7 separate regions of the Homo sapiens genome follow, and all the other regions are linked to region 2. Evidence: promoter capture Hi-C in 16 types of primary human blood cells and fetal thymus (Javierre and others, 2016). All regions are on one chromosome and are shown on one strand. Each heading gives the region's core, a stretch centred on a gene start or on the middle of the fragment in contact. The rest is flanking DNA. Distances are from core to core; before and after follow the strand shown. Region 1 overlaps LOC107986167 (a long non-coding RNA gene). Region 2 holds the start of MASP1 (MBL associated serine protease 1). Region 3 overlaps TPRG1 (tumor protein p63 regulated 1). Region 4 has its middle 44 kb from the start of TPRG1-AS1. Region 5 has its middle 61 kb from the start of TPRG1-AS1. Region 6 overlaps TPRG1 (tumor protein p63 regulated 1). Region 7 overlaps LOC107986167 (a long non-coding RNA gene).

Region 1 (3,615 bases), core at 35-2,534, 1.8 Mb after region 2:
ATTCCAATATTTCGGGTTCTGGGAAATTTGAAGCTCACACTCTTAAAATGTTTTCCACTGTTTGTAAAGGCATTTGTTTTGCAAAGGAAACACAATCCTGATGTTCTGTACTTATAAAATCTGCATCTTTAGAGTTGACCGTGCCTCTACGGGCCTTTCTACTTGTCTTTAATTAGGGTTAGATAATATTATTCTGGATAAAGAAAGCAGCCCAACAGAAAAGGGATGGTCAAAGCAGCCCTCGGGACATCAGCCTGGTTTGAATCTATCTATATTTTTAATAAATTGTTCATTTTTCAGTTTGTAACTTGAATCTCACTGAAAGATACAGCCTCCAAACACACGGAGTTTCTACCATGGGCCTTGCCCTAAGCTCGAACCCTGGGACACAAAGATAATTCCATGAAATTCTTGGGTTCAGGGACCATCAGATGAGTCCTAAACAGAGATATTTTTGGGAACAGAGTGCTAAAACACATTATATGTACTGTAACAGGGTAGCGTATGAAGTAAGTGGAAAGGGGGCCTCACTCAGCCTGAGTAAGTGGAGTACTGAACAGACATTGTGAAGGAGGCAACGTTGCCCCTGGATCTCACAAAATGAAGAGATGTTCTCCAGTACAATTTTTCTCTCTTCTTCCAACACTCCATAACTGCCCCCTCCTTCTCTTCCTCATTCCACTATGCCTCTGCATGCCTACTTTTAAAGCTTTGTTTCTGAAGAAAAAGGATCTATTCAAAATGCTGACAATCCCCGTTAAATGGCTCTTTAAGAGGTCCCAGGTTGTCAGAACTGCTTCACGTCCTTGAGCTTGGAGATCAACCTGCTATTTATCCAGCTGAAATCCCTCCACCTCCTCACAGACTCCGGCTTGCATCTTAAATTTGCGTCATTTGTTCTGACTCACGCAGCTGTTTGAATTATAGCACTCAACTTCACCCAGGTGTAATTGATTTTCTCTTGCCTGCCACTTGTATATTGGCAGCCAATCCCAAAAAGAGGAAGTGTCTTAAATTTAGGCGATTTGAGACATGATAGGTAGTGCTGAGTATCTGTGTGTGTCAATGTTGATGGGGGAGGTGAGAGAACTCCATAACTCCCCTTCTTTAGGGTGACAATCCTCTTGCTGTCATCCATCACTGAAGCCTTCCTCCTTGCTCTGGTCGAGGCAGGGAGCAGGCCCATCCATCCTGGAGGAGCAGGATGCACAACCGTAGAAAATGATTGGCATCAGTTTTACAGAGGCACTCTCCGTTCTGGGGCATCATATCAGTCTTGTGTCATGTGTATTGATTGTAGACTTCCTTACAGAGAGTCTGGCTCACGACTAGGGTACCAATGCAATTCTTCTGGCCCCTGCCTGCTGAGAGAGGGAGATGACAGAGAGGTTGTGTGAAGGTGAAACAAAGACTTGATCTTCAGTGGCTGTTGTTTCATTTGTTCTGAGTACCTGCAAGGCTCTGCAATGGAACAGGACATCTTTTACCTTCTAATTGCCAGTCTAGGAGAGGCTGCCTGCTAGAGGCAGATTTGGGTAATGAAGACTGGCAAGGTTTCTAATGATGAACAAAGGGAGAGTGGGGGAGTCATAGACCAGAGCATAGATAATTCATGGCATACTCAAAATTGTGTCTCAGTGGCATGTCTCTTCCTTGCCCTTGAGTTCAGAGTATCTCATCTGATATTTATGGAATGTCTCTGCGGTGGCATGCATGATGCTAGGTATGTGGGACCCATAGCCAAACAAGACAGAGTCCCTGCCCTTCAAGGCCTTAGGATTGATGTATTAGTATTGTTTCATCAGTCTCCGTTCTTTAAAAATCTCTTGAATTACTCTCGTCTTCTCCATCCTCTCTGGAAAGCTTCGCCAACTTCAGGCAAAGCTCCTCTCTATACTCTGTACTTAGGTTAGCACTGAACTCTCTAAGTCATGGTCAGATGGGTTTCTCTCCCCTGAATGTCTTGTTCATAAGTCTCTGCGGGCAAAAACAGCATCTTTTCATCTCAGAATCCCCATTGCTCTTGTCAGGAAGTGGGCATTCAGAAGTACATTGAGTGATGAACCTCACAGCTTATGTCTGTCTTTCCCTTATTCATTCTTCAGTATCCTTCTCAGGTTGGGATAGAAGAAGCTCAGCCAGGGCCTAACGTTATAAAATGTTGTCTGGTGAATGAGACCTTGGGAGAGGAGAGGGGAGTTTGGTCAGGGCCCAGCTCTGTCTCTGATTTGCACTTGGCATGAATCATCTCACTTCTCTTGACCTCTATCAGTCGTATCCATAACGTTTGCTCATGTATACTGTGGGAATTGGAAACGATAAGACACTGCTAACTGCATTCATGGTCAATCATTGTTTTCATGTGCACATTAATCTTGCAAACAGTTATTAAACACCAGTTGTATAGGAGGCTTCTCCCAGCAGGCTCTGCATACCACACCTCAGTTGCATCAAATGGAATGCTTGCTCTCCACTCAGTATACCTTCCTTCTCCTGTCCTGGGGCTCTTCCCCCTGCTTGGGAGGCCCTAGTGCCACCCCATCACTACTGTCTTTTCTTTGGTTTTGTTTTCTGAATCCTCAGTTTCTATTCTGGCTTCTCGAGTGTTACCTTCTCTGTGAAGACTTCTCTCACCCCTCTTCTCTCCACTTGAGTGGAGCACTTCATCTCTCCTCTGCTGTGGCATGCCTGTGCTTGTAGAGCAGCTATAGATCTGCATGTTTACCTTCCTATTAAATTATGAGCTCTATAAGAGCTGGATTCCTCATAGTGTCTGATACCAAGAGATTGATCTTTTCTTCCTTCTGACCTGTTCTTCTACAGCAGTGGTGCTCAAACATTTTGGCTTCAGGACTCCTTTGTGTGCTTTAAAATGATTAAGGACTCCAAAGAGCTTTTGCTTATGTTAGTTAGATCTATTCATATTTACTCTATTAGAAATTAAAAGTGTGAAACGTAAAAAATTCATTAGTTCACATATTTTCCAAAAGAAAGTGGTGTTGTTTTACATTCTTGCAAATCTCCTAAGTTTGGCTTAATTGAAGACATAAGTATATTCAATCTGTAATAATATGTTGTTTAGTTGAAGTAGATGAAGAAAATTCTGCCTTATACAGACGTATAATGGAAAAAGAGTGAAATATTTTAATAGTATTTTCAGACAACTGTAGACAGTTCTCTCTCTCTCTCTTTTTTGCTACCACATCAAAACTTAACAACTGGGAGTTTCTCTAAGATTAACTGCATTGTGGGATCTGGAACTATATGAATGAACATTTTGTACTCAGTTATATTAAAATTTACTAGTGCATCTTGCATTTTAAATGTGTATTTTCTCCATGCATGGCTTTGTAACACTACGCATTTGGTCATCTGGGAAATATTGGTTCACTGACTTCTACCAGTCTTTCAAATGTTGGCACATTTCATTCCAAAACTCAAATTATCACATATTTCAACATCAACACTAATCAAATAAAAAAAGTTTTAAGTATTGGGGAGCTGTTAAGTTCCTGGTGGTGGATACACCTTTTCCAACATTCTAATTTTTTATTGAAAGCTTAAATTTTATGATTGGCAAAAGGTATTATTGATTGTGCTCTTGAAGTGGCAGCT
Region 2 (3,505 bases), core at 858-3,357:
GTGAGGCCTGAGCACTGGCATGTTTCAAGGCAGCACAGATCATTCCGACGTACAGTCAGAATTATGAGCCGTCAGTTTAGAATAATACACTTGGCTGAAAGTCTAGTGGAATATAGTAGAAAAAATCCTGAACTTGGAGCCCGAAGACCCAAATTTGAATCTGGACCTTTTCATGATCATCAGTGTGGTTTGGGCAAGTTGCTTAACTGCTTTTATACCCACTACTTATCCATAAATCCTTACTTCATCCAGAATCTGAAACCCCCATGAGACAGTGCTCTTGAAAGTGCTCTGCAAACACTGAAATACTGTATCCATGTGAGACAAGACCTGCTGGAGACTTTTCTAGCAGAGCACCTTTCTCGTAGTTGCTTGGCTATTCAAAAATTGAATTCAATTCAACAAATAGGTATTGAATGGCTGGTAGGAAATAGACATTATGCTAGGTGCTGGCCATACAAAGATGAAGACATAGATCATGTAACTTAAGGAGTGCTGAGACTTGTAAGGGGAGGTGGACATTTAAACAAGGGGATACTACAAGGACAATAAGAGATGCAGCTTCAAGGGACAGAAACAGAACAAAGGACAAAGGAGGGGATGCTCACTCTGGAATATGGTGGTCAGGAGAGAGAAAGAGATATTTGTGCCAGCTTGAACAATCAGGTCTTCTAGGTGGAAAATAAAGAAGAAGGTTGCTCCAGGTTGAGGGATGAGCATATGCAAAGATACAGAATTGTTACTCAGCCAAGTAGTTTGATATGGGCTGGGGCACTGAATGGTAGGGTGGGATTCAGACCAGATCATTGACAGATAAATGAGATTATCATTCAATGTAGATTGACATAAATCACTTTTTTTTGGAGAAAGAAAAATGATGTTTAATGGCAGGTTTAAAATTACTATGGCTTTAAGAAGAACAGAATTATTGCACTCACTTTTTAAGGACCTGGTTATCTCTCTGAACCACAGGTAATCGGAGTTCAAAGAGTTAACATAGTCTGAAGCCTCTCATTGGTCTCAGGTCCAGAAAAGTTGCTAGGTTACTTTGCAGAAGAGAAACAAATAAAAACACTTTCCCAAGTGAAAAGAAAATTAATAGTAAAAGATGTGTTTAGGGACTTACACATCTGCAGAGCATTGTGTGTGTGTGTGTGTGTGTGTGTGTGTGTAACAGCATTAACACTTAACTAATAAAAATAACTAGGGTGGTTGGGTTTTCAGACTTGCAGGATAGAACTTGTATGAAAGGTCTGGTAAGGAGTGTCAAGTATAATGAGGAATAAGAAAGGTTAAAGAGTTTAAAACCAATTAGAATTTGAAGTTCTTGATTTCAGAACTCTAAAATCCTTTTTTTTTTTTTAAGTATGATATCTCTTTAAGAGCCATTTGGTGTACTTCATAGCCTGATTCATGCCACCAGCTGCCTCTGATTTCAATGAGAAATGCAGAAAATTTATAGGGAACTGTAAAATGGGGACAGATTTTTAGTTTTCTAAATTGAGGTTTAACTGGCAAACTTGTAAAGGTTGAAGAAACCACAGAGCCAAGCTATGGGAAGCTGGTTTCTTTTCTGGTCAGAAGGAATGAACACACAAACACATATCTAACTCACAAAGTGCTGGAAGAGAGAAAGCAATGCTCTTTCCAGAGGAGGAACACGGAAAAATCAGCCTTGTGGGTGAACAGGAGGAGAGTCACATTCGCCAGCAGGCAGCACCCTGTGCAGGCAGTGGGAGAAATCTGAGCTTCAGCAGCGTCCGGAGCAGGATTTGCACGAAGTCTCCCGTTTCAAGTTTTATGTCTCCTGGAGTCCTGGGGAAGGCACCCAGCCCACCCACAGCTCCCTTCTCAGAGCCCTAAGAATTGATGAGAAAGCCCCTCACTACCACATGCAGGACACGCAGGTGAGTCTGTCAGTGACAAGGTCAGACCTTCCCTGCTATTTGACACTGGTCCCCAAAAGGGAACCGTGCCCTCTCCTCCCCTGGCACGTACCTCATTTTCCTGCCTTGGGTGCTCCCGGCTGCCCGGCCTTGGTCCTCCCAGCTTGACTTGCCTGTGAGCTCGTGCCCGGTGTGGTGTCCGTGATGCCTTATCTTTGTTCTGAGGTCCCTGTGTGTCTCTGGAATTGGCTGGCATTCTCCATTCAGGTCACGCCTTCCCCTGCCTGCAACAGATCCCCTCTCCCCCTCTCTCCCTCTGGCTTTTCCTCTCTCCTCTCTCTCTCCTTTGACTTGCTCTTGCACTCCCAGGAACCTGACAACAAAATCTGTCTTCCTACCGAAAAGATCTGCTCCTTCCCTTCCCTCCTTTATCCTGTGTGGCTGACTTCAGCCCTTGAGAGAAAATAACTGAGGGGCTCAAGCAGGTATTTGTATCACTCTGTGTGTGTGTGTGTGTGTGTGTGTGTGTGTGTAGAGAGAGAGAGAGAGAGAGAGTGAAAGGGGACAAAGTCTAATTTCTCTTTAGTCTTTTTTGCCAGATGACTATAATTTTCTGCTTTTCTTCAGGACACCCATGAAAGAAAAGCAATTAAATAGAAACAACCAACTAAGAAGGCAATTCTAGCACCTACACTAGAAGAAAAAAAAAAGGTCTAAATCCCAGAGCGTCTGTCTGCAAATAACTACAGGTTTCCTTGTGAGCAGAGCCCCAAATAACTACAGGTTTTCTCGTGATCAGAGTCACACACAACGACAGGTTTTCCTGTGAACAGAGCCACGGGCCCGGAACTGGGGAAGCACCAAGTCCTGAAGTTGGCTGGTTGTTCCTCCCCATGAGCAATACCTGTGGCACTGTTTACTTGCTCGGAGTGTGTGCGGCTCTACTCCAGCCCAGAAAGGGCCCATCGCAGCAAGAAATCTCACCTCCCCAGGGGTGTAGAAAGACCTGGGCCTGTATATATGTCTATACCCATGGCTTCCGGAGAAATCAACACTAGATCTAAGATGAGCTGAATAATAAGAAAATTACCCCCTCCACAACAACAACAACCAACACTGAATAGGGAGAGGTGTATCTGGGTGTAAAAGTTAAGTTTGACTGTGCACCTTTTCTGTGTTAGACACAGTACTAGTCATTAACATCATCTCAAGTTACTTTTGCAAACTGGTGAAAGTGCTGCTGTTATACTCATTTTACAAGTGAGGACACTAAGGCTCAGAGAGAATATGCCACTTGCCAAGATCATCCAGTTATTTATGACTCCCCACTGCCACTAGCACTAGAAGCTAACAGCTATTGAGTGCTACGTGTCAGGCACTGCTCTAAGCACTTAATATATGAATTCTTTTCAGTCATCTTTATATGTTGTATACATGGCTGGCAATATTCTCATTTTTCAGAGGAAATTGCCCAGAGAGGTTAAGTAACTTTCCCAAGTTCACACAGCTAGAAAGTAATAGAGGCAGAATTTGAAGTGTTAGCCACTGTATTACACTGCTACTCATTAACATTTTATAATGCATATGGAATTTCAAATGCACACACACAGACGGCATTC
Region 3 (3,252 bases), core at 563-3,062, 1.9 Mb after region 2:
AACAAGATAAAACTAGTTCCAAAGTATTTGATATCTAGGAAATTTCCTGTAAAAAATCCAGATATCTTGTTTTCAGGAAGATCAGGAGATCTGATAATAATGGACCCACATCCCCTCATGGATAACACCTGTGCTGGGGCCGGGCAGCAACTTCTTCCTGTAGATAGAACATGTTTTCCCCCATCCTCCACAGCTCCCATTTTACCTGATTTAGGCTACCAAGTGTTTGAATTTTCCACTTCTGATCTCTTCCAATCTCTTAGGTATTAGGATTCCTTTCAATCATTCTCTTTCAACGGAAACCTAGTTCTACATAATGACAGACCAGGCTACAGGTTAATGGCACCAGGGAAGAGGTGAAGTTAATTATTTGTTCCTAACCTCTCACTATGTAAGAGATATAGGATATATGATGACTTCAGTAGAACATACCGTTGGCTCTGATACCTACCCAGGATATTTTCTTCAGCTAGCTATCAAAACTCAGTGACTTGAATGCTAAAGTATTAAGCAAGATGACACTGCTGCAGCATAATATTTAGATGCCTATAAAAGAATAGGAAGGACAGTTGATACTTGCAGGGTAATCCTCTTTACTCAATCGATCAATGGCATAAAAACAAGAAAAGAAATTATGATGTATGATAGCACATAGATAGCAATATAATGCCCTGTTTCCAAAGAATCCAAATTGCTGAAATACTAGAGACTAGCTTAATGATATGTTTTCTCTTATTCACCCACTAATATAATAATCACCTTTTGATCACCTATGGTGTATTATACAACCCTAAGCTTAGGGATTTAGGGGTAAAGAGTAGAGACCCTTTCTCAAAGGGGCTTACCATCTAGTATTGAAAATGTGTACACAAGTAACTATAATGCAAGACAGAATATGATAAATATTTCAAGACGAAGAAGAAAGCAAATATTGAGGTCTCACGAAGAAGAGATTTATGGCAACTAGGTAGGTTGCCATCAGAGATAATTGTAAGGATGAAATGGCACTCGAACTGGGCTTTGGCTCAATAGACGTGAGAAGAGTTTTCAACAAGAGAAGAGTTTAAGTAAACTCCCAAGTCAATACTATTTGAAGTATATTTGAAGGGTAGGAAGCATTTACTACAGCTCAATATAGGGCCAGTGGAACTGAAGTGGAATGAGGCCAGAAGTCTGGGTCTTCACCAGATCCTGGGTGCTGGCAGGCTCAGGGTTTCAGATCAGGCACAACATGGTGTCTTTGATGGGCATTACGGCTATTGACCAGACATTAGTTCATGATTATTAGCTCATTGTTATCCAAGTTTGTAAGTCGTCAGTGAGAGAATGTCTGTGTAGGCACACCTTAGCTCTACATTAGGATTTTCAGAAGTAACAGAAAAAAAAGAACAGGATTAAGTTGAGCACTTACATGAATACAATACACAGTATCATGTGAAGTGAGTAAGGCAAGGTGGTGCTATACAGTAGAATTAGAAAGATGGATAAAAATATTTTTAAAATATGTTAAGCAACCTATAAGACTCATTTAAAAATATGGAAAAGGTTTCTCTCTCTCAAGAAAGTCTATTCCTCTGGGTTATCTGAATGTTAGAAAAATGATGATGCACAAGTTGAGTTCTTAACTTGTGTGATGTGGGAAGATTTTTTATTACGTAACCTTTGTCCTTTGGTCTGGGAAGCAGTCACTCTATAAGGAACAGGCATAGAAGATTCTTGATATCCTGACCCTGGATTCCTTCATAATAAACATTACTGAGAAAATCGTAAATATATGCATGCTCCACTGTGTTTCACAGCATTCCAGGTGGGTGAAGGGAAAGATTTTGTTTTGCAAAGGGCTACACTGTCACCAAAGCAATATTTAATATTTACACAACTCCAAACCCCAAGGTATTTTATAAATAACCAAACTTTTCTCATTTTCATGTGTATGATTGTGTGTGGGATTGGCTTAGAGTTGTACTTATATCTCAGAGTTCTGCGCCTCAAGAGACGTATGTAGGTGATGTGACACAGAGTAAAATGAGGTGTTTGAACAAGATTCATTCATTTTAAACTATTTATTGAACAATGGTTCAATTCAAACGTCTATTCAAGTGTCATTCATTGAAAGCTATTGAATATCTGTTTTAAGTTTTGGGAAGAAAATTGTGTCTTTTCTACAACCCCATAAGTAGTTCTGGTAATAGCAGCAGTGAAAAAAAATAATAATCTCTTTATTCAAGGAGCTTATATTTATAGTGATACAGAAAATAAACAAAACCATTCAGTAAAATATGTAATATATGAGATATGGAGAACAATAGAACAGAGAAAGAGGATAGAAAGTTATGGAGAGCTAGATTTTGGACAGGGTGCTTAGGGTGGAATGAGGCATTATTTGGGTAAAGGACTTAAGGATATGAAGGAGTCAGCGAGGCACTAATTGGTGAAAGAGTATTCCAGGCAGCTGGAACAGGAAGTGCAAAGGCCTTGAAGCAAGAGCTTGCCAGCCTGGCATCTTTGAAAAATAAGGCGTGGAACGAACTGAGTGGAAAGATCTTTGGATTTTGGGAGATGAAGTTAGAAGTTAGATGATTGTGGAGTGAGAACAGGGAAAAGTGATAATGCAGGGCCCTGTAAGACACAATAAGGGCTTTGACTTTCACTCTGATTGAAATAGGAGCTATTTGCAGATTTGAGCAGATGAATGACATGGTCTGACTTATGTTTGAAAGGTATCCTTCTGTCTGTGTGTTGAGAACAGATGAGGATGAAGTGGGGAGAGAGGTGGCAGAAGAAGAGAGATTCTTAGGGAGTTATTGCTATAATCCAGATGAATGATGTGGAAGCTTGGATGAGGATGTAGCTGGTTGTGCAGGAATGAGAATGTTTTGATTCTAGTGGCTGATATATAGAATGAGGGATAGTGAGACAGATAAGTCAAGTATAACACCACAGTTTTACCTGAGCAACAGGTAGAAAAGAGTGGCCTTTATTTGAGATGGAGAAGATGGTGAGATGAATAAGTTTTGAAGGAGTATTAGGAGCTTACTTATGGACAGGTTAAGTTTGAAATGTTAAGTGGGGAGTAAATGTATAAATCTGGTATTCAGTGAGGATATCAGAGCCGAAGATAAAAAATGGGAATCATATATGTATGTATGTATACGCATATATATGTCTATACATATATATGTATACATATATATGTCTGTTTATATATGCATATACTTATATATGTATATACATATATATGTCTGTTTATAT
Region 4 (3,269 bases), core at 586-3,085, 1.7 Mb after region 2:
ATCATTATCATGAAATTAACTTGAATGCAACATTATTTAATCTTATAGATATTATTCACATTTCATCAATTGTATCACTTGTATCTTTCATAGTAAAAGAAAAAAAAAACTCAAACATTTTGTAGGGAAATATGTCCTCTGATGTAGGACCCTGGGGTTTGCTGTATTATTTCAAAGGGAATTCAATCAATTTGCTGATTCATTCTCATTCTCTCTCTCTTTCTTTCATTATCTCTTTACCAAACCTACCCTGATTTTTGACCATTTTAAGTACTTTATAGTCAACCAGCCTAGAATCTCTCTACCTGTATCCAACTAGATCTCTACCTGTTCCAGTCCTTGTTAGAACAGGAAAACAGTCATGTAAAGCAATGCAGAAATAGTAAAGTTTAATATAGAAATTAGGGATTACCTGGGAGAGAAATCAGGAAGGGTATATCCAAAATGTTAGGGAAAAAACCCTGAAACTCTGTAGTGAGTAGTTATAAAATGTATTAGGAAACTGCTGCAATTCTTGATTTTCAGGGAGAGCCCCCAGCTGACTATTTTGGTTAGCTGAATAACTTCCTTCTGGTTAGCTATGTGCCTGCCTTGATCCCCCAAGTCCTGCCTTTCAAAATCTCATGTGAGTTCTTCTTATCAGCAAAGTCAAATCTGGAATCATAGAGCAAAGGAGGTTCTGGAGAATCTAGATAGAAGGCTTCCAGTTCAGGCTTCAAGTTTTTCTGGTGAGTAAGTGGTGCCCTATAGTAGGAGAGAGAATGGACAGAAAAGCATCCGGCTGGCCCAGGAAATCTCTTTCTGGAAAATTATTCAAATAGTTAGAAATACATTGCTAAATTCTGTCACTGACCCATGTTAGAGATAATTGGATCTCCCTTTCCCACCAGAATATTGAATTTGTTTTTTTGAGACGGAGTCTTGCTCTGTTGCCCAGGCTGGAGTGCAGTGGCGTGAACTCGGCTCACTGCAAGCTCCACCTCCTGGGTTCACGCCATTCTCCAGCCTCAACCTCCCGAGTAGCTGGGACTACAGGCACCCTCCACCACGCCTGGCTAATTTTTTTTGTATTTTTTAGTAGTGACGGGGTTTCACCATGTTAGCCAGGATGGTCTCGATCTCTTGACTTCATGACACGCCCGCCTCGGCCTCCCAAAGTTGAATTTGTTTTTGTTATCATCACTTTCCCCAATGGATTCACCCTAAGATACAATCCAAAGAGGGCTTCTCTTTATTATTGATACTTCTTATTTCTATTTAGAAACTCTTATTTTTTTTGATTCCAATTAATTAGTGTTAGTTGAGCTACCATGATTTTTCACGACCTTGATCCTAACCTTGGCTGTAGTTTATTGTTCCATGGAGGACATAGTATTCAAGTTAGCCCAATTACAGTGTTTTTCCCCATTTTTTCATTTCTAATGTTTTTCTAATTTTTTTTGTTTCTAAAAATAGCTCAATTGTATGATACGTCTAGAGCAAACGAAGATTGCATCAGTCAGTAGAGATTAGGTTATGCTCTGGTAACAAATAACACCAAAATCTCAGTAATTATTTTTTTCGAGGCAGAGTTTGGCTGTCACCCAGGCTGGAGTCTAGTGGTGCAATCACTGCTCACTGCAGTCTTAATCTCCTTGGCCCAAATGATTCTCCCACTTAAGCTTCTCAAGTAGCTGGGACTACAGGCACATGCCACCCCACCCAGCTAACTTTTTTATTCTTTTGTAAAGACTAGGTTTTGCTGTGTTGTCCAGGCTGGTCTTAAACTCCTGGCCTCAAGTGATCCTACTGCCTTGGTCTGCCAAAGTGTTGGGATTATAGGTGTGAGCCACTGCACCTGACCTACAGTAGTTTTTTTTTTTTTTTTTTTTTTTTTTTTGGTGACACAGTCTTATTTACTGCTCATTCGGTTTCTACTGAAGATCTAGGTGTTTCTACAGGACAACTGTGTCCCATGTGCTGACTCAGTATTTTAATTGCTTAAATATTTTGGTCTCCCCATATAGATACAAGCTTTTACAATTCTTATGGTACGGGAAGAGCCAAACTAGAGAATCCTGTATCTGCAATTAAATGCTTCCACTCACATTTCATGGTCAAATCAAGTCAAATGGCCATGTCCAACTTCGAGAGGTGGATTAGTGGAATCCTTCATGTACTCAGAAGTAGAGCATATCTAGATATTGGTGAACAATTGCAATACTTACCCTATGGACCCCAAAGTCCTATGGACTTCTGACTGACTGACTATTCAGTTGGAGTTAAATGACTAAGGAAGGTAAGTATGATGCCCCTATCATCTTAGAACACATGAGTCAGTACTAAGAAAAATGTTCGCTCTCTCTTTCTGCTTTTTCTATTACTTTGATTACTATGCTTGAGAAAGCCTAACAAAAATGATGCTATTCCTTTACATTTTGCTCAGCATTGTAGATGAGCTATTAGTCTTTTATATAATGTCGCCTCTGAGTTAGAAATCTAGTGTTGAAGCTAATAGTAGGGTACTGTTTATGCAGCTTACCATACAGGGTTGCTGTGAACCTCAAGGGAAATAATGGTTATAAAAGGGCTGGATATACTTTAATAAATTCAACAAATAGTTTAAGGTGTTGTTATTGTTATTTCTTTCATTGAGCTTTCATTAGGAGCATCTCAGGATGACTTTTCAGCTGAAATCAAATTGGCTGATTCTTCAGTGGGCAAAACCCTCATTTTCAGACAATCTAAAGGCCTTTCTTATCAGTAGATTCTCCTAAGCATTTATGAGTGTAACAGGATGGAATAGGCCTGGGGTAGAAGGTAAGGGTGCTCAGGACTAGTCTGTGATAAAAATGGGGTTCCAATGGAAAAATAAGGCAGCCTATAGTATAAATGTGAGCCCGCTGAGGTCTGCTGTGTGATTCTCTTTAATAACAGAGTTGAGAGGTGTTAATGAGCATGACACAGGGCACACAGCCATCGAGTGAATTAGTCATAGCTTGATTCTTTTTTGTGCCTCGTCTAATGGCAAACATTACCCAGCAATCACAGCAGTATCACTCAGATGGAGCAGAAGGTGTGGAAGGGTGTAATGAGGCTGCCTAAAAACTGTTTTACAGAGCCCTGCACCAATTCACAACAGATAATAGAACTCAGAGCCAGACAGATAATAGAAGCGACAGCCATTTATTGCTAAGAGACTGTCTGAATATTTGTGCATAAAGCAGCCCACTCCAAGTTCTTTAATCACATTTCTTGAGAAAGAGTGGCAAAATGGAAAGCCACGTGTC
Region 5 (3,442 bases), core at 338-2,837, 1.7 Mb after region 2:
AGAGCTTCTGCACAGCAAAAGAAACTACCATCAGAGTGAACAGGCAACCTACAAAATGGGAGAAAATTTTCGCAACCTACTCATCTGACAAAGGGCTAATATCCAGAATTTACAATGAACTCAACCAAATTTACAAGAAAAAAACAAACAACCCCATCAAAAAGTGGGCGAAGGACATGAACAGACACTTCTCAAAAGAAGACATTTATGCAGCCAAAAAACACATGAAAAAATGCTCATCATCACTGGCCATCAGAGAAATGCAAATCAAAACCACAGTGAGATACCATCTCACACCAGTTAGAGTGGCAATCATTAAAAAGTCAGGAAACAACAGGTGCTGGAGAGGATGTGGAGAAATAGGAACACTTTTACATTGTTGGTGGGACTGTAAACTAGTTCAACGATTGTGGAAGTCAGTGTGGCGATTCCTCAGGGATCTAGAACTAGAAATACCATTTGACCCAGCCATCCCATTACTGGGTATATACCCAAATGACTATAAATCATGCTGCTATAAAGATACATGCACACGTATGTTTATTGTGGCATTATTCACAATAGCAAAGACTTGGAACCAACCCAAATGTCCAACAATGATAGACTGGATTAAGAAAATGTGGCACATATACACCATGGAATACTATGCAGCCATAAAAAATGATGAGTTCATGTCCTTTGTAGGGACATGGATGAAATTGGAAACCATCATTCTCAGTAAACTATCGCAAGAACAAAAAACCAAACACCGCATATTCTCACTCATAGGTGGGAATTGAACAATGAGATCACATGGACACAGGAAAGGGAATATCACACTCTGGGGACTGTGGTGGGGTGGGGGGAGGGGGGAGGGATAGCATTGGGAGATATACCTAATGCTAGATGACGAGTTAGCGGGTGCAGCGCACCAGCATGGCACATGTATACATATGTAACTAACCTGCACAATGTGCACATGTACCCTAAAACCTAAAGTATAATAAAAAAAGAAAAGAAAGAAAAAAAAAAAAACGTTCTAGAAAAAAAAAAATGATTCAAGGGATCCTACTTTAAATGGAGACAGCAGGCATCAGTTAAATAAAAATAATGGTCATGTTACACATGTATCTGCATGTGTGTGAGTGGTGAGAGGGGCCAATGGGGTGAGCAATGCGAGTGCCATCGACTTTGTCCACTGTTGATGGAATCTACTTTGTTCGCAGTTAGTCACTAGGAGAGGCAGCACACTGTGATCAGTTGTTCACAAGTTTGGCTGCATATTGGAATCACTTGGACATCTTTTAAAACTCTTCATGCACAGGCTGTACCCAGAACAATGTAATTAGGATCTCTTCAAATATGATTGATGATCAGTGATTATTATAGCTTTACAGGTGATTCCAATGTGCCGCTAAAGTTGCAAATCATAATGTAGTGGAAATAACCTTGGCCTGGGTTTCTAAAATGTAGTTCACAGCCCAAGAATTAGTACAATTTTACTTTAACTAACTACTGAGTGTATAAATGAGAAATTAGTTGCTATTCATGCTTTTTTTTCCTTCCAAAGCAGTATTTTTTACTGTCTTTCTTGGACTGACAAGAAGCCTGGGAGGCTCTAAAGCAATGGGATTATTAATTTGGGTTTTCTTCTTGCTGTAAGAGATTGTGCATGCTCCATGCACAATAGATTTCAGAGTTTATGGACACTGGAAGGCATCAAAATTGTATGGAAAAGGAAACAGCCATCGGGCTAGTCCCTTGGGATTTAAGATGTGCTGAGGAAAACACAACAGAACACAATAAAATATTGTCTCTGTTTGAATAGAGTTTTTAAGCATTATTCTATAGTGCCTAATGGCAGAGAATGGGCAACTCAGTACTTTTTCTTATCTCTCCAAGACCTCTTTACTCTTCCTGGATTGAGAATGAGTGGGTCGGCAAAGGTGATTGAGAAGGGTGTGCGAGTAAACTGGGGATTTGCTATTTGCCTTTGTGCTGTGGCTTTTCATTTGATACCATAGAACTAATTGTTTACCCCAGCACAGAGTAGGCCTACTAAATCAATGAATGCATTCTGGTTATCTTCAATCAGTAACCAGAATGCATTCACTGATTCCACCACTGTTTCGTGGCCCACCGGCTGGCTATGAGAGCTACAGAGTCCAAATTTGGGGTGTGTTTTCTGAAGCCATGATCAAAATCCAAGTATGTTCATTAGGGTTGTGGAAGGATTGTGGAAAACTTAACCCTATTAACTCATTAGCTCCCATTAATATTGATAATTTATTTGACTGGTCTGAGGGAAAGGACATTGGCCTAGTAAATGTAAATAATACCTAAGAGAAGTGGGTATACTAGACCAAGGAGTAGGATGAGAATGATGCTAGTTAGGGAAGGCAGATGTATTGAGACCCTTTAAGGAGGGCCTGCGAAATTGGATAAGTAAAAATTCTACTCAGTGAAAAGGTCTCTTTTCCCCTCCAATTGTAAAAGTAACCCCTGATTTTATATACATATACAGCACCTGCAGAAATGCAAAGAAATATATTTTAAAAAGCAAGAAAACTAAAATCATCTCATAATCTTCTCTATTAATGCTTTCTGATCATTTTTTCCATTTATTAATGCAAAGTTCTTTCCCAATAGAAATAAATATAATATTTATATCTAGTATTTACCAATAGTGTTATCTTATGACTCTCAGGTGGTCGACACCCAGGTGCAATAATTCTCTCTCTTTTTTTTATTTCCAACTTTTATTTTAAGTTCAGGGGTACATGTGCAGGATGTGCAGGTGTGTTATATAGGTAAATGTGTGCCATGGTGGTTTGCGCGCAGATCATCCCATCACCCAGGTATCAAGCCCAGCATCCACTAGCTATTTTTCCTGATCCTTTCCCACCCCTTGCCCTCCCACAGGCCCCAGTGCATGTTGTTCCCTACCATGTGTTCATGTGTTCTCATCATTTAGCTCCCACTTATAAGTGAGAACATAGGTATTTCATTTTCTGTTCCTGCATTAGTTTGCTAAGGATAATGGCCTTCAGCTCCATCCATGTCCCTGCAAAGGACATGATCTTCTTCCTTTTTATGGCTGCATAGAATTCCATGGTGTATATGTACCACATTTTCTTTACCCAGTCTATCACTGATGGACATTTAGGTTGATTCCATGTCTTTGCTGTTGTGAATAGTGCTCCAGTGAACATGTGTCTTAATAATAGAAAAATTTATATTCCTTTGGGTATATACCCAGTAATGGAATCACTGGGTTGAATGATATTTCTGTCTTCAGCTATTTGAAGAATCACCACACTATTTTCCACAATGGCTGAGCTAATTCACACTCCTACCAACAGTGTATAAGCATTACTTTTTCTCCACAACCTCACCAGTACCTGCTATTTTTTAGCTTTTTAGTAATAGCCATGACTGGTGTGAGATGGTATCTCATTGTGGT
Region 6 (3,249 bases), core at 656-3,155, 1.9 Mb after region 2:
CTTCATTTCTGAATGATAATTTTGCTGGGTATAGTATTCCTGGTTGTCAATAATTTCCTTTTAGCACTTTGAGTATATAATCTTCTTTTCTACCTGCCTGTAAGGTTTCTGCAGAGAAATCTGCTGTTTAGTCTTACAGGGATTCTCTTATATGTGACTTGATGTTTTTATTTTGCTGTTTTTAGAATTCTCTCTTTGTTTTTGACTTTTAATTTTTTTTTTTTTTTTTTTTTGAGATGAGGTCTTGCTTTGTCACTCAGATTGGAGTGCAGTGGCATAATTCCATTTCACTGCAAACTTGAACTTCTGGGCTCAAGCAAGTCTTCCACCTCAGCCTCCTGAGTAGCTGGGACTATATGTGCATGATACCATGTCCAACTAATTTTTAATATTTTGTGGAATTGGAGCCTTGTTGTGTTGCCCAGATTCTCTTTGACTTTTGACAGTTTGACTACACTGTGCTTCACAGAGAAACTTTTGGGTTTAATCTATTTGGGTACTTTTTTGCTTCCCAGATTTAAATATGCATATCTCTCCCCAGACTTGGGAAGCTTTCAGCTTTATTTTATTAGATAGGTTTTCCATACACTTTCCCTTCTCTTTTCTTTCTGGAACTTCCATGATACAAATATTTGTTCACTTAATAGTGTCCATAAGTCTTGTAAGCTTTCCTCACTCCTTTTCATTCTTAGTTCTTTTTTTTTTTCTCTGACTTTGTAATTTCAAATTACCTATCTTCAAATTCAGAGATTCTTCTGCTAGATCAAGTCTGTTGTTGAGGCTGTCTCTTTTATTAATCAACTTATTCAGAATACTGCGGGATTTCTGTTTGCTGCTTTATGTATGTCTACTATCTCTGTGCAATTTCTCATTCATACCATGAGTTGGTTTCCTGATTTTGTTGAATCGTCTGTCCGTATGTTTTTGGTTGTTTGTTTCTTGTTCCTTAAGAGGATTATTTTGAATTCCTTTTCCTGGCGATTCATTTATTTGTCTATTTATTGAGGTCGGCTACTAGATAATTATTATAATTTGTTGGTGACATCATATTTTCTTGCTTTTTCATGTTTCTTATTCATGTGTTGCTGTCTGTGCATATGGTCAATCATCTCTTGCAAACTTTCTACAATAGCTTTCATAAAGAAAGATTTTCACCTGCACCTGCTGTTGTTTTTTTTGCCTGCTGGTTGTGAAGGGTGTAGTGACCGTTTTTCTGCATAGGTGCAATGGTATGATCTCTGTGCAGCTTCTTTAGCTGTATTCAATGTCAGTAGTAAGTGTGGGCACCTCAGTGGCCTAGGCTGTAGAAGCCTGTGGCCATGACAGCATAGGTTGTTAATGTTCTAGGTATCAAGCGCTTTGGGGTTCTTCTCTCCTTACTTTTCCTACAGTGGAGAGACTTAGCCAAGGAGATCCCTTTTATTATCAGGTCTGACACAGCCTACAAGTAGCTGCAGTGGTGCTGGGTTCCAGGTACAGGTAATCATAGCAGCTGTGGTGCAAAGGTCCTGGGCTCAGTGTTACATGAACCTATTGTGACACCTAGGTCTTTGGCTGCAAGTTTTCTCTCTTTGGCTGGTTGAATACAGGTTGCCCACAGAGCCTGGATCTGTGACTCTGAGGCATCTCCTAACAGCTTGGGCTCAGGAGTCTGTGTCATGATTGTGATTCTACCCATGGGTGGGAGCTCAGAGTACTGGCACATCTGTGGGGAAAAGGGAGTGTCCTAGAGGTTTGGACCTGCAGAGCAGAGTATGGCTGCAATTTGGAAACCTGTGCCAACAGGGCTCAGTGGCAGCTTGAGTCCCAGGGAATGAGATACTGTGTAGTAGTAGCTATAGACCCTGGGATTTCAGGGCTCAGCAGTATCTCAGCCTCTGTGAGGCCAGGTGCAGTGGCAACAGTACCCCAGAACGGTGGAGCATGGCTATTATCTGAGCCCTGGAGCTGGGCTGGGGACAGCACAGTGATGACTTCACTCCCCAGGAAGAGGGGTGTCTCAGCAGCTAAGACACCACTCTAGGGGGCTAGTCCAGCTCCAAAGGTACTAGACTTATTTGGCTTATAAGGTGAGGTATCTCAGCTCAGCCACTGCTCTGTTTCCTTGGAGCATGGGGTACTATGTAAGCCCAACCCTGAGATGCAAAGCTGCTCAGCTTAACCAGGGCACTGATTCCCTAGGGGGTGATATGTTGTATCAGCTCAGGCCTGAGGGTATGGTGACTGTTCTGGGCCACCTAGGCACTGTTTTCCTGGGATGCAGGTTGCTGCTTCAGCTTAGGTACTGGGGTGCATGACCACTCTTGGTGGTCAAGGCACTGTTTCCTGGGATGAAGGGAACTACTTCAATTTAGACACTAGGGAGGTGTGGCTTCTCTTAGTGGCTAAAGTACTATTTCCCAAGAGGCAGAGTCCTGCTTCAGCTCTAGCTGAAAAGGCAGCGGGAGTGGTAGGTGAAGTGGCTTCACCTCTGCTCGACTCAACAGAGAAAGCTGTAACAGCTGATTGTGGCTTGGCTTGAGGATATTTGGCCACTGGTCTGCGGTGGTTTGGCAGTAGCTTAGCCTCAAGGATAAAGGAGAGCCATGACTACTCACCGCTAGAGCAAGACACACTCTAGCCATAGTTCTAATTCAAGACAGTGTATTGCAGTAGCCGTGTGGGCCACAGGGGGCAGGGCACAGTGTCAGCATCTCCTCTGGAGGGAGCACAGCTATGTGGACTCCAGTCAGCTCCCACAGCTGGGCTTAGTGCCTGTGAGCACAGCTGGGGATCCCAGGGTTGAAATCTATTGGTGTCCAAGGTGTTGATGGGGATTCCTAGGATCCTCTTGCTTTCTTCCTTGTTGTAGACAGAAGTTCCTCCTAGTTCCTAGGTGATCCTGATTAAGGGATGGAGTGGTAGAGGCCTGGCATTTCCTTCCCATCTCTACGTAACAATCCCAAATTTCTGTGTTTACCAGGGTTTCTGTTACTCCCCTGATGTACTTTGGTGCCCTTCCTTGGTTATTTTCATTAAAATGTAGTTGTTTATTTATTGTTCTGACTGTCTTTGTAAAGAGTAGAGTGCTAGGGGGCTTCTAGCCGGCCATCTTGCTGACATCACCTCTCTCAGAGAGCAGGTTTCTTTTGCTTCATAGGCCAACAAAGCTTTCTCAGGGATTTGAGGCAGTTTAAGCAGAAAAGAGGAGCCTGAAACCCTACTGCTTCCATTAATTTACTTTGTGACCTGAGGTAAGTCACTTCCTTA
Region 7 (3,611 bases), core at 412-2,911, 1.8 Mb after region 2:
TAATAAGCCATATGTATATGTTGTAATATCCCCACCCCACAAAAAACTACAAAAGCTGTACAAAGAAATACTCTGAGAAATACTATAAATAAATCAAAATAGAATAATAAGAAATTTTCATATAACCCACAGGAAGGCAATAAAAGAGTAACAGAGTAACAAGAACCAGATGAAATAGAAAACAAACAATAAAATACTAGGCTTCAGTACCAACATATCAAAAATTATCTTAAATATAAATTATCTGAATACATCAATCAAAGAAAGAGATTGGTAGAGTGAACAAAAAAGACCCAATGATATACTGATTACAAGAAATTCACTTTAAATTCAATGATATGGGTGGATTGAAAATAAAGGAATAGAAAAAATTTACCATGCAAACTTTAAGCAAAAATGCAGGTGTGGTGTATTAATATCTAATAAAGTGGACTTCAGAGCAAAGAAAATTACTAGAGAAAAAGTCACATTACATAATAATAAAAGGATCAACTTACTAGGAAGAGGTAGTAATTCTAAATGTACACACCAAAAAACAGAGCTTCAAAATGCATAAAGCAAAAACTGATAGATTTGCAAGGAGAAATAGGTAAATCTACAGTTATAATTCAGTACTTCAGCATTACCTTTCAGCAACTGATAGAACTCCTAGAACTCCTAGACAGTAAATCAGAAAATACTTAAAAGATATGAACCACACAATTATTCACCAATAGTATCTAAACGACATATGTAAAAACTCCACACAATAGCAGAATAAACTTTTTTTCAAGTGCCCATTTAACATTCAGTTATATATTCCATATTCTGAGCCATAAAATATACCTCAACAAATTTATAAGAACTGAAATCATACAGTGTGTTTTCTCTGACTACAATGGAATCAAACTAGAAATAAATAAAGTCTACAGGAAATTCTCAAAATATGTGGGAATTAAGCAACATACTTCTAAATACTTTATTGGTCAAAAAGGAAATCTCAAAGGACATTTAATACATATACAAAACCAAATTAAATTGAAACAATAATGTGTCAAAACATATGGGATGCATCTAAAGCAGTCCTGAGAGGGAAATTTATAGCAGTAAAAACTTACTCTAGAAGCAAAGTGTTTTGGAGGTCCCCAAGACCACTCCTGTTTTGGTGATTTTATTAGAAGAGCTTTTAGGACTTAGAAGTCATTATACTCATGATTGTGGTTTATTATAGTAAAGGGTCCCAAGAAAAATCAGTGAAGAGAAAAGGTGTATGGGTAACGTTTGGAGAAAATCAGGCACAAGCTTCTAAGAATATTCTTCTAGTGGAGTCACTAGAAAATACACTTAATACACATAAGATGCACTTAATTCTTCCAAGAATAAATTGTGAAGGTGCATGTAAAGTTTTGTCTATTACAGAGACTTGTCTAAGCCTATAAGTTCACAATTTTCATTGTGGGTTGGTTACATAGGGATATAGTATCCGTAGGACTGACTACAGTTGCTGAAGATCCAGGTCCCCAAAGGAAATGAGTTTGTTCATAAATCACATTCCTCATACAAACTATTTAGAAAGCCTGGCATAATATGGCTCAAGGTCCCAAGTGTTTAAAGCATTCCTAGAAGTTAGAACATTCCAAGATCTCAATTCCCAAGAACTGTTTAAGGCCTCACCACAGAATAGGGCTTTCTTGAGAACTGCAAAGTTGGAGCAACTCAGGACAACTGGGTTAACGCTTTCCTGTACACAAGAAAAAAAAATTCAAATCAATAATCTAAATTTCTTTCACAAAAGATTAGAAAAAAAGCAAAATACATCCGAAGCAAGCATAAGAAAAAATAAGAAAGATTATAGCAGAAATTAATAAGATTTAAAATGAGAAATGATAGACAAAGTTAATGAAAGCAAAAGCTGATTCTTCAAAAAAGTCAGTAAAATCAATAATCTCTAACAATACTAGTAAAAATAAAAAGTGAGATGACATCCCTAATATCAGGAATGAAATAGAGGATATTATGATAGATGCTGCAGCCATTACATTGCTAATTAGAGAATACTGTGAAAAGCTTTATGTGCTATAAATTCAACAACTAAAAAAATACACAAATTCCTAAAAAATTAGACACCACAAAAACTCAAACAAGTTGAAATAGATAATGTAAGTTGTCTTAGAATCATTACAAAATTGGATTAATAATTTAAAAACTAATAATTAAGAAATCTCAAGGTTGGCCACAGTGGCTCACACCTGTAATCCCAGTGCTTTGAGAGGTTGAGATGGGAGGATTGCTTGAGATTAGGAGTTTGAGACCAGCTTGGACAACAAGGTGAGACTCCATCTCTACAAAAAGTTTGAAAATTAGCTGTATGTGTTGGCGCACAGCTACTCAAGAGGTTGAAACAAGAGGCTTGCTGAAGCCCAGGAACTCAAGGCTGCAGTGAGCTAAAATTATGCTAGTACACTTGATTCTGGGTAACAGAGCTAGACTGTCTCTTAAAAAAAAAGAAGTAAAAAAATACCATTTTGAGACCAAAATGATTTTACTAAAGAATAATACCAAACATTTAAAGGAGCATTAACACAAATTTTGCACAATTTCTTCCAGAGAATAGAGAGGAAACACTTATTACCTTATTTTATGAGACCAGTAGTACTCTGATACCAATACCAAACAAAGACAGTACAAAGAAAGAAAGTCACAGACTTGTATCCCTCATGATTTTAGATGTAAACATTTTAAACAAAATATTAACAATCCCTATCTAACAATATTTAAAAAGAATTATAGATCATGAACAACAGATTTATTTCAGGTATAGAAAAGTGACTTAACACTCAAAAATCATTCATGTAATATACCATGTCCAAAAGCTAAAAAAAAAAGGCAATGATGATATCAATTGATGCAGAAAAAATATTTCACAATATCAAACATTTATCAGGATAAAAACATTTAGCAAGTTATAAATAGGAATTACTATGACTTGATATGAACATCTACAAAAAAACTGTAGCTAATATCATACTTATTGGTCCAAGACTAAATGCTTTCCTCCTAAGTCTGAGAACAAGGCAAGGATGTCTTTAATACTACTCTTATTCAATAGAGTACTGGCGCTCTAGCTACTGCAGTAAGCTAAGAAAAAAAAAGGCACACAGATTGGAAAGGAAGGAATAAAACTATAATTTTTTGAAGATGACATGATTATCTTAATAAAAATCCCAAGGAATCTAAAGAAAAAGAATCCTAGAACTAATAAATGAATTCATCAACTTTGCAGGATATAAGATTAAAACACAAAAATTGGACATTGCAGCTGATACTGCAGAAATTCAAAGGATCATTATAGACTACTATGAGCAACTATATGCCAATAAATTGGAAACCTAGAAGTGGGTAAATTCTTAGACACATACAGCCTACCAAGTTTAAGCCATGAAGAAATGCAAAACCTGAATAGATGAATAACAAGTAACAGATCAATGCCATAGTAAAAGTCTCCGAGCAAAGGAAACCCTGGGACCCAATTGCTTCATTGCTGAATTCTACCAAATATTTAAAGAAGAACTAATATCAATCCTACTTAAACTATTTCAATAAATAGAGGATAAGAGAATATTTCCAAACTC

What was found. Contacts are between HindIII fragments. The CHiCAGO score rates a contact against its expected background, and 5 or more counts as called.
Region 1: a contact is called between a fragment that was not itself captured here and the fragment with the promoter of MASP1 in region 2, in 1 of 17 cell types (fetal thymus). The highest score is 5.7, in fetal thymus.
Region 3: a fragment that was not itself captured here is called in contact with the fragment with the promoter of MASP1 in region 2 in 2 of 17 cell types (total CD8 T cells and non-activated CD4 T cells); the score reaches 5.8 in total CD8 T cells.
Region 4: a fragment that was not itself captured here is called in contact with the fragment with the promoter of MASP1 in region 2 in 1 of 17 cell types (monocytes); the score reaches 5.3 in monocytes.
Region 5: a contact is called between a fragment that was not itself captured here and the fragment with the promoter of MASP1 in region 2, in 1 of 17 cell types (naive B cells). The highest score is 5.3, in naive B cells.
Region 6: a fragment that was not itself captured here is called in contact with the fragment with the promoter of MASP1 in region 2 in 4 of 17 cell types (neutrophils, activated CD4 T cells, fetal thymus and 1 more); the score reaches 8.8 in neutrophils.
Region 7: a contact is called between a fragment that was not itself captured here and the fragment with the promoter of MASP1 in region 2, in 2 of 17 cell types (monocytes and naive B cells). The highest score is 8.3, in monocytes.

What each region holds. Positions count from the first base shown.
Region 1 is chr3:189,093,719-189,097,333 of GRCh38, forward strand. All of the region lies in intron 2 of LOC107986167 (a long non-coding RNA gene), which reads right to left. It also overlaps a transcript of TPRG1 not described here. Among named protein-coding and RNA genes, the nearest start is that of TPRG1, 76 kb to the right of the region's middle. The HindIII fragment of the contact is 1,154 bases long and covers 708-1,861 here.
Region 2 is chr3:187,289,630-187,293,134 of GRCh38, forward strand. MASP1 (MBL associated serine protease 1) reads right to left here and starts at 2,108. Exons shown (of 11, transcript NM_139125.4): 1 at 1,999-2,108. The coding sequence starts at 2,003. LOC101929130 (a long non-coding RNA gene) reads left to right here and starts at 1,643. Exons shown (of 2, transcript NR_135551.1): 1 at 1,643-1,907. The HindIII fragment of the contact is 4,632 bases long and covers 1-3,505 here.
Region 3 is chr3:189,174,254-189,177,505 of GRCh38, forward strand. All of the region lies in intron 1 of TPRG1 (tumor protein p63 regulated 1), which reads left to right. Among named protein-coding and RNA genes, the nearest start is that of TPRG1, 3.9 kb to the left of the region's middle. The HindIII fragment of the contact is 2,039 bases long and covers 794-2,832 here.
Region 4 is chr3:188,990,356-188,993,624 of GRCh38, forward strand. No RefSeq gene overlaps it. Among named protein-coding and RNA genes, the nearest start is that of TPRG1-AS1, 44 kb to the left of the region's middle. The HindIII fragment of the contact is 352 bases long and covers 1,660-2,011 here.
Region 5 is chr3:189,007,064-189,010,505 of GRCh38, forward strand. It overlaps a transcript of TPRG1 not described here. Among named protein-coding and RNA genes, the nearest start is that of TPRG1-AS1, 61 kb to the left of the region's middle. The HindIII fragment of the contact is 7,683 bases long and covers 1-3,442 here.
Region 6 is chr3:189,192,921-189,196,169 of GRCh38, forward strand. The region is part of intron 1 of TPRG1 (tumor protein p63 regulated 1); the gene reads left to right. Among named protein-coding and RNA genes, the nearest start is that of TPRG1, 23 kb to the left of the region's middle. The HindIII fragment of the contact is 2,483 bases long and covers 665-3,147 here.
Region 7 is chr3:189,062,701-189,066,311 of GRCh38, forward strand. LOC107986167 (a long non-coding RNA gene) reads right to left here. Exons shown (of 5, transcript XR_007096249.1): 5 at 1,180-1,720. It also overlaps a transcript of TPRG1 not described here. Among named protein-coding and RNA genes, the nearest start is that of TPRG1, 110 kb to the right of the region's middle. The HindIII fragment of the contact is 765 bases long and covers 1,280-2,044 here.